2 separate regions of the Homo sapiens genome follow, and region 2 is linked to region 1. The links are contacts of gene promoters, found by promoter capture Hi-C in blood cells and fetal thymus (Javierre and others, 2016). All regions are on one chromosome and are shown on one strand. The core of a region is centred on a gene start or on the middle of the fragment in contact, and the rest is flanking DNA. Distances in the headings are between cores, read along the strand shown. Region 1 holds the start of ACAD11 (acyl-CoA dehydrogenase family member 11). Region 2 has its middle 7.9 kb from the start of TOPBP1.

What was found. Contacts are between HindIII fragments. The CHiCAGO score rates a contact against its expected background, and 5 or more counts as called.
Region 2: a contact is called between a fragment that was not itself captured here and the fragment with the promoter of ACAD11 in region 1, in 4 of 17 cell types (non-activated CD4 T cells, fetal thymus, total CD4 T cells and 1 more). The highest score is 7.0, in non-activated CD4 T cells.

Annotation. Positions count from the first base shown.
Region 1 is chr3:132,657,146-132,661,937 of GRCh38, forward strand. ACAD11 (acyl-CoA dehydrogenase family member 11) reads right to left here and starts at 2,664. Exons shown (of 20, transcript NM_032169.5): 1 at 2,458-2,664. The coding sequence starts at 2,606. UBA5 (ubiquitin like modifier activating enzyme 5) reads left to right here and starts at 3,184. Exons shown (of 12, transcript NM_024818.6): 1 at 3,184-3,553. The coding sequence starts at 3,393. The region is part of intron 26 of NPHP3-ACAD11 (NPHP3-ACAD11 readthrough (NMD candidate)); the gene reads right to left. RefSeq lists enhancers at 2,966-3,504, 3,040-3,129, 3,500-3,779. The HindIII fragment of the contact is 2,892 bases long and covers 1,178-4,069 here.
Region 2 is chr3:133,667,419-133,672,210 of GRCh38, forward strand. It overlaps a transcript of TF not described here. Among named protein-coding and RNA genes, the nearest start is that of TOPBP1, 7.9 kb to the left of the region's middle. RefSeq lists an enhancer at 3,085-3,229 and a cis regulatory region at 3,151-3,164. The HindIII fragment of the contact is 3,319 bases long and covers 259-3,577 here.

The sequences.
Region 1 (4,792 bases), core at 1,414-3,913:
CTACCTGGAACTGTGTGAGATAAAGAGTCTAATTTCTATTTCTTCATACAGATAACAATTATTCCAGTATAACTTCTTGAAAAGTTCTTCTTTTCCCCCCACTGACTCTCAGTGCCAACATTGTCACTTATCAAACTTCTATAAATATGTGGGTCTTTCTGTGAACTCTCTGTTCTATTTTATTGGTCTGTCTATCTCTGTGCTAATATCATACCATCTTAACTCAAATTTCCCACCTTGTGGTTCTTTAAAAATGTTTCTGCTATCCTTAGCCCTTCGCTCTTACACATAAAATTTAGGAGCACTTTTTCAAATTAGAGAAAAAAATTAGGATTTTGATTGTCATTGCTTTGAATCAATAGATCAACTGGAAGAAAAAAGTTTGCAATATTGAATATTCCTATTCAACAACATGGCATCTCTCAATTTTTAAAATTCTTTTTAAGGTCCTAATAAAAGTTTTATCATTTCTCTACAAAGGTATTGCACATCTTTTACTTAGGTAATTTATATTTTTGATGCTCCTGTAAGTTTTTGAAAATTACATTTTAACTGTTGCTAAAGTAGAGAAATGCAGTTGATTTCTGTACACTGAACTTTGATAGTCTTTTACTGTCTATGTAGATTATTGGCTCTTTAATCCATGAATCACTTAATTTATAAACATGTATTTGTTAGCTATCTTCTGTTAAACTTTTGGTATTAAAAAAACACATATTCCTTTTTTTTTTTTTTTTTTTTGAGTCTCACTCTGTCACCTAGGCTGGAGCATGGTGGTGCAATCTTGGCTCACTGCAACCTCCCTCTCCTGGTTCAAGCGATTCTCCTGCCTCAGCATCCCAAGTAGCTGGGACTACAGGCACGTGCCACCACGCCCGGCTAATTTTTGTATCTTTAGTAGAGATGGGGGTTTCACCATGTTGGCCAGGCTGGTCTTGAACTCCTGACCTCAAGTGATCCACGTGCCTCGGCCTCCCAAAGTGCTGGGATTACAAGTGTGAGTCACTGCACCTGGCCAAAACACACATTTTCAAAATATAAAGATTGATTCTTTTGAGTTTCTGAGACTTCCTTCATGGCCTATGTGTTTTCAATTTTTATAAACTTTTTCATGTGTCCTAGAAATGAATGTGTGTTCTCTGTGGGATCCAGAGTTCCATATATATTTATTAAACCAAGCTTATACAACATTTCTGGAAGCAATTTTTATACCACAACTAATTTACAACTAATTTCATTTTTTGAACACGGTTATGGTTTAACATTCAGCTTGGTTCAGAATTAAGTATCTTTCAGTTATGTACCTCTTCAACACTCCTACAATATGAACGTTACTATCTCCTTTTTGCCAAAGCAGGACTAGATGTTCAAAGGGTAACTTGTCCAAATTCCACAGCAATTGAAATAGTTGAAATTTGAACTTTGATCTGTTTCAGTTTGTTACAACACAAGGCTTCTAGCCTAGAAATCTCAGCTATTCTTTATTCCACCTTTCCCTTCATCTTCCAATATCTATTGGGACATGGGACCTTTAAATTCTACACCCTAAAATGTTCCCTGATCCATCTCATTTATTATTATTTTCATTTTCACCAAAATCAGTAGTCAAAGAATATAAATGCTAGTGATAAAATACCACTAGCACACTATGTTGTTGCAATTTTTACGCCCTTTCACCTATATTACGGTATTTCATTTCATTAATAAGACTAATCAAAATAGGTATTACAACTTAGGAAACTAGTTCTCAGAGTGTTTATGTAACATATTTAAACTCCCAGACAGCAAGTGACAGATCCAGTTTTCTGAATGATAGGACTCTTTCTGTAGCCCTGTATTAGTAACAATGTTATTTTTAGAATAAAGTTTTAAGAATGTATTATCTATTGTAAAACATCAGACTAAAGCCAGATTCCCGGTGGGGAACGCTACTCTCAGGATCCTCTCACTCAGTTCCATTACCTCACTTCAAAAAACCTGAGGCCCAAAGTGGTGCTGTGACCTCCTAAGTGGAAAAGCTAGTACTCGAATTCGGATCCTCCATCTGGTGTCATTAACTCAGCCTCCCGGAATACGGCCAATCAAACGGAATTACACCAGCTTCTCAGAAAAAGATCTAATGGCTGTATCACAAAAGAAGGCATCTATTTCTCAGAATTTGTAGCCTTAATTGCCTTGGTGAATCCTCAAGGGACATAAATCCATCCTTTAACAAAGATTCCTTTGGATAGTAGAATGGTGAACGTTATTGCGCTTCCATTACCGCCCTCCAATTGGGAAGCCCCCAGCATCGAATTCGGAGGGCCGGCAATAGCAGCTCATGCCTGTAGGGTGCGTCCACTGACTGCAGGAAAAGCAATCAGGGTGGGAGAAACTTAGGAAACCACCCAGGGCCAAAGGAAGGAAAACTCAATGTACAAATTTTTTTCCGCTGGAGGCAAAGGCTGACATCCATACCTGTACTGGGCAATGGTCAGCGTAGCCTCACGTTCGGCCCCAAAGCCAGACAAGTGCTGGTTTAGGTAGGCCTCCAGGGACTTGCTGTCGAACTTGTGCTGGGGCAGCACTTCGGCCAAATCGGACTCGCCAGTAGCACCTGGCTTCATGATCACCCCCGCAGGCCACAGCAACGCGGCATCCACAGGTCTCGAGTGCCGAAGTCCTTCAGGATTGGGGCAACGTCCCCTCTAGAGCATGGGCCGAGGCCGGGGTGGGGTCTGGCTCCAGCCAACCGCACACAGCCTACGCGCCGTTGCTGAGCAACGCTTGCCCGCTGAATCCCGAGGTTTTAGCTCTAGTCAAGTGCCAAAAGAGCCCAATGTGTGTTCGGGTTTCAATTCTCCAGTCAGCGTCAGAGTTGGAGGCCTCAATTTTAAAGAAGGCAAAGCCATGGTCATCGTTGCGGGTAAGGAACAACGCAGAAGCCTCTTCCACCCCCAAATTTAATGCAACAGCAGGCGGAAGACCTGCAGGGTCCCGTTCAGAAAAAGGGCCGTCAGACTGTCGAGCCTAAGAATAAAAAGACCCTGTTTCTCTTAGATACCCGGTTAGCAAGGCAACATCGCTGGCCTCCTGCCCTGGACACTTATCACCCCGGTGCTGCTGCGGCCGGGTTTAGCCGGCCCAGCGAGGAAGGAAGCCGAAAGAGCCAGGTTTTTGATGAGGGGGAGCGATGTCTGCGACGCACCGGAAGCGGCTCCGAGGAAGGCCTGTGGGAGTCTCGGAGACGTGTCTGTCTGTGAGGCGCTGGGTGCACGTCCCCAGGGCTCTGGGCTAGGAAGGCAGCGGCGAGGTGCCTCCCCACGTACCCCTCGCGGGCCCAGCCGAGCAACGTGGGGCGAAGGCGGCGGCGAAGGCCCGGGCTGGGAGCGTTGGCGGCCGGAGTCCCAGCCATGGCGGAGTCTGTGGAGCGCCTGCAGCAGCGGGTCCAGGAGCTGGAGCGGGAACTTGCCCAGGAGAGGAGTCTGCAGGTCCCGAGGAGCGGCGACGGAGGGGGCGGCCGGGTCCGCATCGAGAAGATGAGCTCAGAGGTGGTGGATTCGAATCCCTACAGGTAACCTGCGTCGCCGGTCGGAGGCAGGCGCGGGGGACGAGGTCAGGCTCCGTGAGGTCAGAAGTGAGGCGCTTCCCACGTCCCGCTCATGGGGACGCCCGCCACCCTTTTCTTGGTCTGCGAATCCTGTTCCCAAATGGGCAAGGCCACATCTTAGTACTGATCGGAAGATATTCTTTCTCTTTTTTAAAAACCTCCAGTGAGTCAGCCATATGGTGCTGCTCCTGTGCCTGCTGAGGACGTGTGTCCAGTTTCCTATCACCCTTGCCTCTTAATTAGTCCGCCTCGCTGTGTATAAGACTGATAGTAAGAACTTTCAGAAGATGAGATCAAATATTAAACCTGCTAAGGTAAACTTTGAGTTTCATTAAAGGCTTATCAATGCATCTTAAATGGGGTCGGGGCGGGGGAGAGCGGGGTTAGCTCTATTCTGAGATATTCGGGTGCTCCTTAACATCTCAAACCATTCGACATTACCAAGACTGCCCAGGCCTCTCTTTTCTTCTTTCCTAACAAAGCTTATCAATTCAGCAGATGGAATATAGTGCAATGGTTAAGGGTAAGGACTCTACCGCCAGACTGATTGCAATTCAAATCTAACTACTCTCTTCGTAACTGCCTAACCTTTGGCAAGTTGTGAAACTTTCCGCTTCAGCTTCTCACCTGTACAATGAAGATAATAGTAATATCTATCTCTGTCATAGTTGTGGGGATTGAAAAAATCAGTATGTATAAAGGTCTTAGAGTAGCGCTTGTACATGGCAAGCCTTATACAAGATTTTATTGCTAGGTGCATTTAGTAGCAAGCAGTTATTGAGCTTTCACTGTGTAAGCACTTTACATGCATTGTCTCCTCCCACCAAAACCCTATGAGATTGCTACTATTTTACCCCCATTATATAAGTGAGAAAATTGAGGCTTAGAGAGCCACCTCAGGTTCATGCCTTGGTAGTAAATAATAAGGCCTGTCTTGCATTAGATTTGTCTTAATGTAAAATTCTCATGAACCGTCTCCCCAGTAAAAACAATTAAGTCGTGTAGCTAAAAATTGTATAGTGTTAAAGTAGATAAGGAAGATTTTATTGTTGCTTTTTTCCTTTAAAGAGCATAACAGTTTTGATTTTTAAAAAAGGTTTTAGTTTGTGATATATAAAGCCGCAGTAGAAGTCTTAGGGTGCACTGTTTTAACTGTGTTGCCAAATATGAACGGTTAATGGTCCAGAATTTTTAGAGATTAAA
Region 2 (4,792 bases), core at 668-3,167, 1.0 Mb after region 1:
TGTGTCCTAAAAACAAGAGATAAACCTGAGAAAGGTTTTGAGCAACAAATGTCCATTACAACCCGACCATGTGGAAAAGATCTAGTTAAAGAATATGGTCCTGTCACCCAAGCTAGGTAGGCACCATCAACTGAGAGAGAGAGAGAGAGGTATGGGGCCAAAGATAGCAATCAGGTTTGAAAATTATGTCTAGGAAAGAACTAGGGAGGGGACTACTTCTGTAGAAGAACAGCTCTGCCATGACTTCCTCTATTGATAAGCTTACACATATCAATAGAGGCAAAGGCTTGAATTGCAACTTATCTGAGCCCTGGCACAACACCTTGTCATCCTTAAGGGAGGTGTCTAAGGAGCTACTAGAAAGGCATCTCTCACTCACCTTTCTATCTCTCCTAAGAGGCTGTCATGACATAGTTTCTCATCACCTCCCAGGTTTTGATGAGATATGGGGCTTTCTGCCCCACTCCCCTCATGATAGGCCTGCAGAATATAAAAGCACTAGCTGCCATCTAGATTTGACTCCTTAGTAATAGAGTATCCTACAACTCGCATTGCAATCATCAGACCCAGGGAGAAGACATCTTTCACTTATTCTTCTCTGTTGCTATCTATGGAAGTAATAAACCATCTAAATCTAAAAATGTCTCAAGTATGTTCACTGGTGGAATCAGGCCCTACCCTTGACCTTGTTTTGTATGTGTGAGGTTGACAATTACCACGTGAAACTGACTGGAACCAAATAGATCTGAAGGTTACGAACATTTTGAGATAATTGCTTTCTGAACCCAACCAGAAACCTGGAGTATTCAGACTTTGATTTAATCCTCAAATTTTCGCAGCACAAGTAGGTGGAAAGTCATACAGCCCCAAGGAGCACAAACTCCTCAGTATTCAGATATGGATAGAGAGGGTAATAGAAAATGAAGATCCTCCCAGAAGGAGGTACCAGGGATCCTGGAGAGCAACGAGCAAAGGAGCTCCTGTCACAGAACAGAATCTGATCTAATCAGAACCCCCAATCGAGAGCCTCCTAGTGCCTGCCCAACTTCAAAATTGATACTGACCAATGATGGCTATGGGTCTCCACTCCTCCCTTTTCTGAAAGGGAGTTTTATTGTTGTTATTCTGTTTGTGCCTCCCCATTCCCCAGTGTGTAGCAGATGTGTGCTTGGGCAGGGAGGGAAAAAAACATGTCTGGATTCTGGCAGAGACCATGTAGAAACCCTTAGTGTCCCACCCATACCCCCTCACCCTTAGCACTCATGCACATTAGGAAACTTCCAGCTGCCAGCATCTGTGTTCATTGCATGAAGGCATTCTCTGGCACCAGGAATCTGCTCTGCCACCTGCACAGTAGGCCAGAGGGCTAGAGGATTTATGACCTATAGGGAAAAAAACCCCTTAAATGATGGCTGACAGGAGTTGGTGCACAAAAACCCTTGTTTGCATGTCCCGTGGATGGGACATCCACTCTGACTCTCATAGTTTCCTCAGGGGAATTAAGTCCCAGTGTCCACAGTGGCATCTGACTTGTTAACACATTCTTTGGATGCCTTTCTCCCTGTCTCACATCTCTATTTTCTTTTTTCTTTTTTTTTCTGAGACGGAGTTTTGCTCTGTTGTCCAGGGTGGAGTGCAATGGCGCGATCTCAGTTCACTGCAACCTCCGCCTCCCGGGTTCAAGCGATTTTCTTGCCTTGACCTCCCGAGTAGCTGGGATTACAGGTGCCTGCGACCACACCTGGCTAATTTTTTGTATTTTTAGTAGAGACGGGGTTTCACTATATTGGCCAGGCTGGTCTCAAACTCCTGACCTCAGGCGATCCACCCACCTAGGCCTCCCAAAGTGCTGGGATTGCAAGCATAAGCCACCGTGCCCAGCCACATCTCTACTGTCTTGCCTGTGTTTCTTTACTTGTCAAATAAAACATCTGAGAAGGCTTGTCTAAAAGTCTGTTTTCTGGGTCTGCTCAAACTAAGACAAAAGACCCCAGACATGTGCTCCCCTTTCATAGTGTTTTGCTGTTGCTGAGAAGTAGTTTCCTAGCCAGAGACTATGGTTCCCATCCTCTTTACAATTGGTGGGGTCATGGGACTGAGTTATGGCCAATAGAATATAGGTAGAAGTGATGTTTGTCACATCCGAGCTTGATCCAAGGAAATTTCTTGCACTACCTTCCACGCTCTTCCTTATTCTGTCATTTGAATATCAACACACAGAGCAATCTTGGAAGCCATGTGTTGAAAATGGCAGAACCTCTCTCAGCCTGGATCTCTGAATGACTGAATGGAGCTATGAAAGTGAACTCCCCACTCCCACCCTAACAAATCACCACGATTGCTGCCAGATGGGCTTTATGTTACTAAGAGGTCAACTCCTATTGTGTTAAACCATTAAGATTTTGGAGCTTTGCTATTATAGCAGTTAGTGCTATTTGTGAGACACTATTTTCCAACCTTATATTAGAATGTTGGGCAAGAAAATTTGATCTCTGCCCTCATAGACCCTATTTCCTTTCAAATGTATGAATAAGTGAAGGGAGAGCCAGGACAGTTAAATCCAACCAATTCTGAACTTGGAAACAGTTTAAACAAACATGGTGCCCCATGCCGTTATTACTTCAAGATGCCTTGGAAAGGGGAAAGTGTGAAATTGCTCCAGAGACAAATGTCAGAGGCCACATGAGAAACAGCATGGACTATGGAAGCAGGCTGCCTAGTTTGAATGCCAGCTTGGACACCTACTAGCTACCTGACCTTGGGCAAGTCACTGGTTAACCTTTCTGTGCTTCACTGTCTCTCTGTACAAAAAGAGGATGGCAATAGCCTTATGGGGTTACTATCATTTAACATTTGGGAAGCACTTAGTACAATGCCTGGTACACACTAATAAATCTATAAATCCCAAGTTTTCCAAAGACCATCTTTGCCGTGAAGTTTTAAAACTGTTTTCCACCATACAAGCATCTAACCTTCTGCTTTGCTATTTATGAGAGCCTGTACCAAAGCACAGAAATGACTTTAGCACTTTGGATGTCCTATCTTTGCAATATCACTTTGTCCCAGTACACACGAAGTTTTCAGAGTTTGATCTAATCTAGGGTCGGGGGCACAGTGGCTGCTATTGGATTTAGGCTGTGTTAGTTTTAGGTGAATAATTAACCTTAGAAGGAATGATCACCTCTGGACTTTATTTGGTTTTTGTCCATAGGCCTGCATAGGAGATTGCTCAACCCACTTTTGAGACATTTGTGTGCATTTATTGATCTGTTTGATTTTTTGAGCCCAATACTATAGCAGACAGTATTTTCCAACCTTGTGTTAGAATGTTGGACAAGAAAAAAGTGATCTCTGCGCTCATAGATCCTATTTCCTTTCAAATGTATGAGTAAGTGAAGGGAGAGCCAGGACAGTTAAAGATGAACCACTCGGCACATGGCCAGGGGGAATCTGGCTTTACCTGAGCAGAGGGTCACTGCTGGCTTACAGAGAAGCCAGCCGAACTGATGGCAGTCTCAGGGCTGGAAAAACAGAAGTGGAGGCAAGATCCCATTGAGAAGGGAGGAGCAGAGAACTAAGCTTGACAAAGGGCCAGTTTTCTCCTTAAGATACTTGGCACAATTTGAAGTTCCATGGAATGGGAGATAAAAAGATAATGCCACACCTTGAAGAGGCTCCAATAAATATATCAAGTATATGAGGTTCCTGTTACTACTGTAACAAAACTTAATATCTTACAGTTTTGGAGGTCAGAAGTCTGAAGTGGATCTCACTGGGCTTAAATCAAGATGTCAGCAGGGCTGAGTTCCTTTCTGGAGGCTCTGCTTCTACATTTAAAGAACCCTTGTGAGGATATTGGCCCACCTGGATAATCAAGCAATACATTTCTCAATAAACCATGAGTTGAATAAGAAATCACAATAAAATTAGAATATATTTTGAACTGAATAACCATGAAGTTATAATATATCAAGAAAAGGAATACTTATAGGCAAATTTATAGCCTTTATCACATGTAATAGAGAAGAGAGGCTGAAAAATCAGTGACCTTAACTGCCTTAAAAGAAAAAAAAAGGCAAGAGAGGCCAGGCATGGTGGCTCACAGCTGTAATCTCAGCACTTTGGGAGGCCAAGGCAGGCAGATCACTTGAGGCCAGGAGTTCGAGACTGGCCTGAACAATATGGTGAAACTCCATCTCCACTAAAAAATAAAAATAAATAAAAATTACCCGGGTGCTCTGTCTAATGCCTGTAATCCCAGCTACTCAGGAGGCTGAGCCAGGAGAATCACTTGAACCCAGGAGGCGGAGGTTACAATGAGCCGCAATCTTGCCACTTCACTCCAGCCTGGGCGATAGAGTGAGACTCTGTCAAAAGAAAAAAAAAAAAAAAGAAGAAGAAGAAAAAGGAGAAGAAGGAAAGAAAGAATAAAGAAGCTAGAGAAAGACCAAAATTCAAAGTCAACAGAGCAGAAATCAATGAAACAATAAATGAATGTACAATAGAGAAAAACAGCAAAGCCAAGGTTGATTCTCTGAAAAGATTAATGAAATAGGTAAAATCCTGGCAATACTAATCAAGGAAAGTAGTAAACATAAATCACTAATATCAGCAATGAAAATACTAAATACCATATACTAAAAATGTCAAAGGATAAGATCATGAATGATTTTATATCAATAAATTTGAAAATTAGATAAAATGGACAAATTTCTTTAACAAAAAACTTACCAATATTGAAACTTGAAGGATCATAAAATCTGGATATTTCTCTAGCTATTTAAGAAACTCA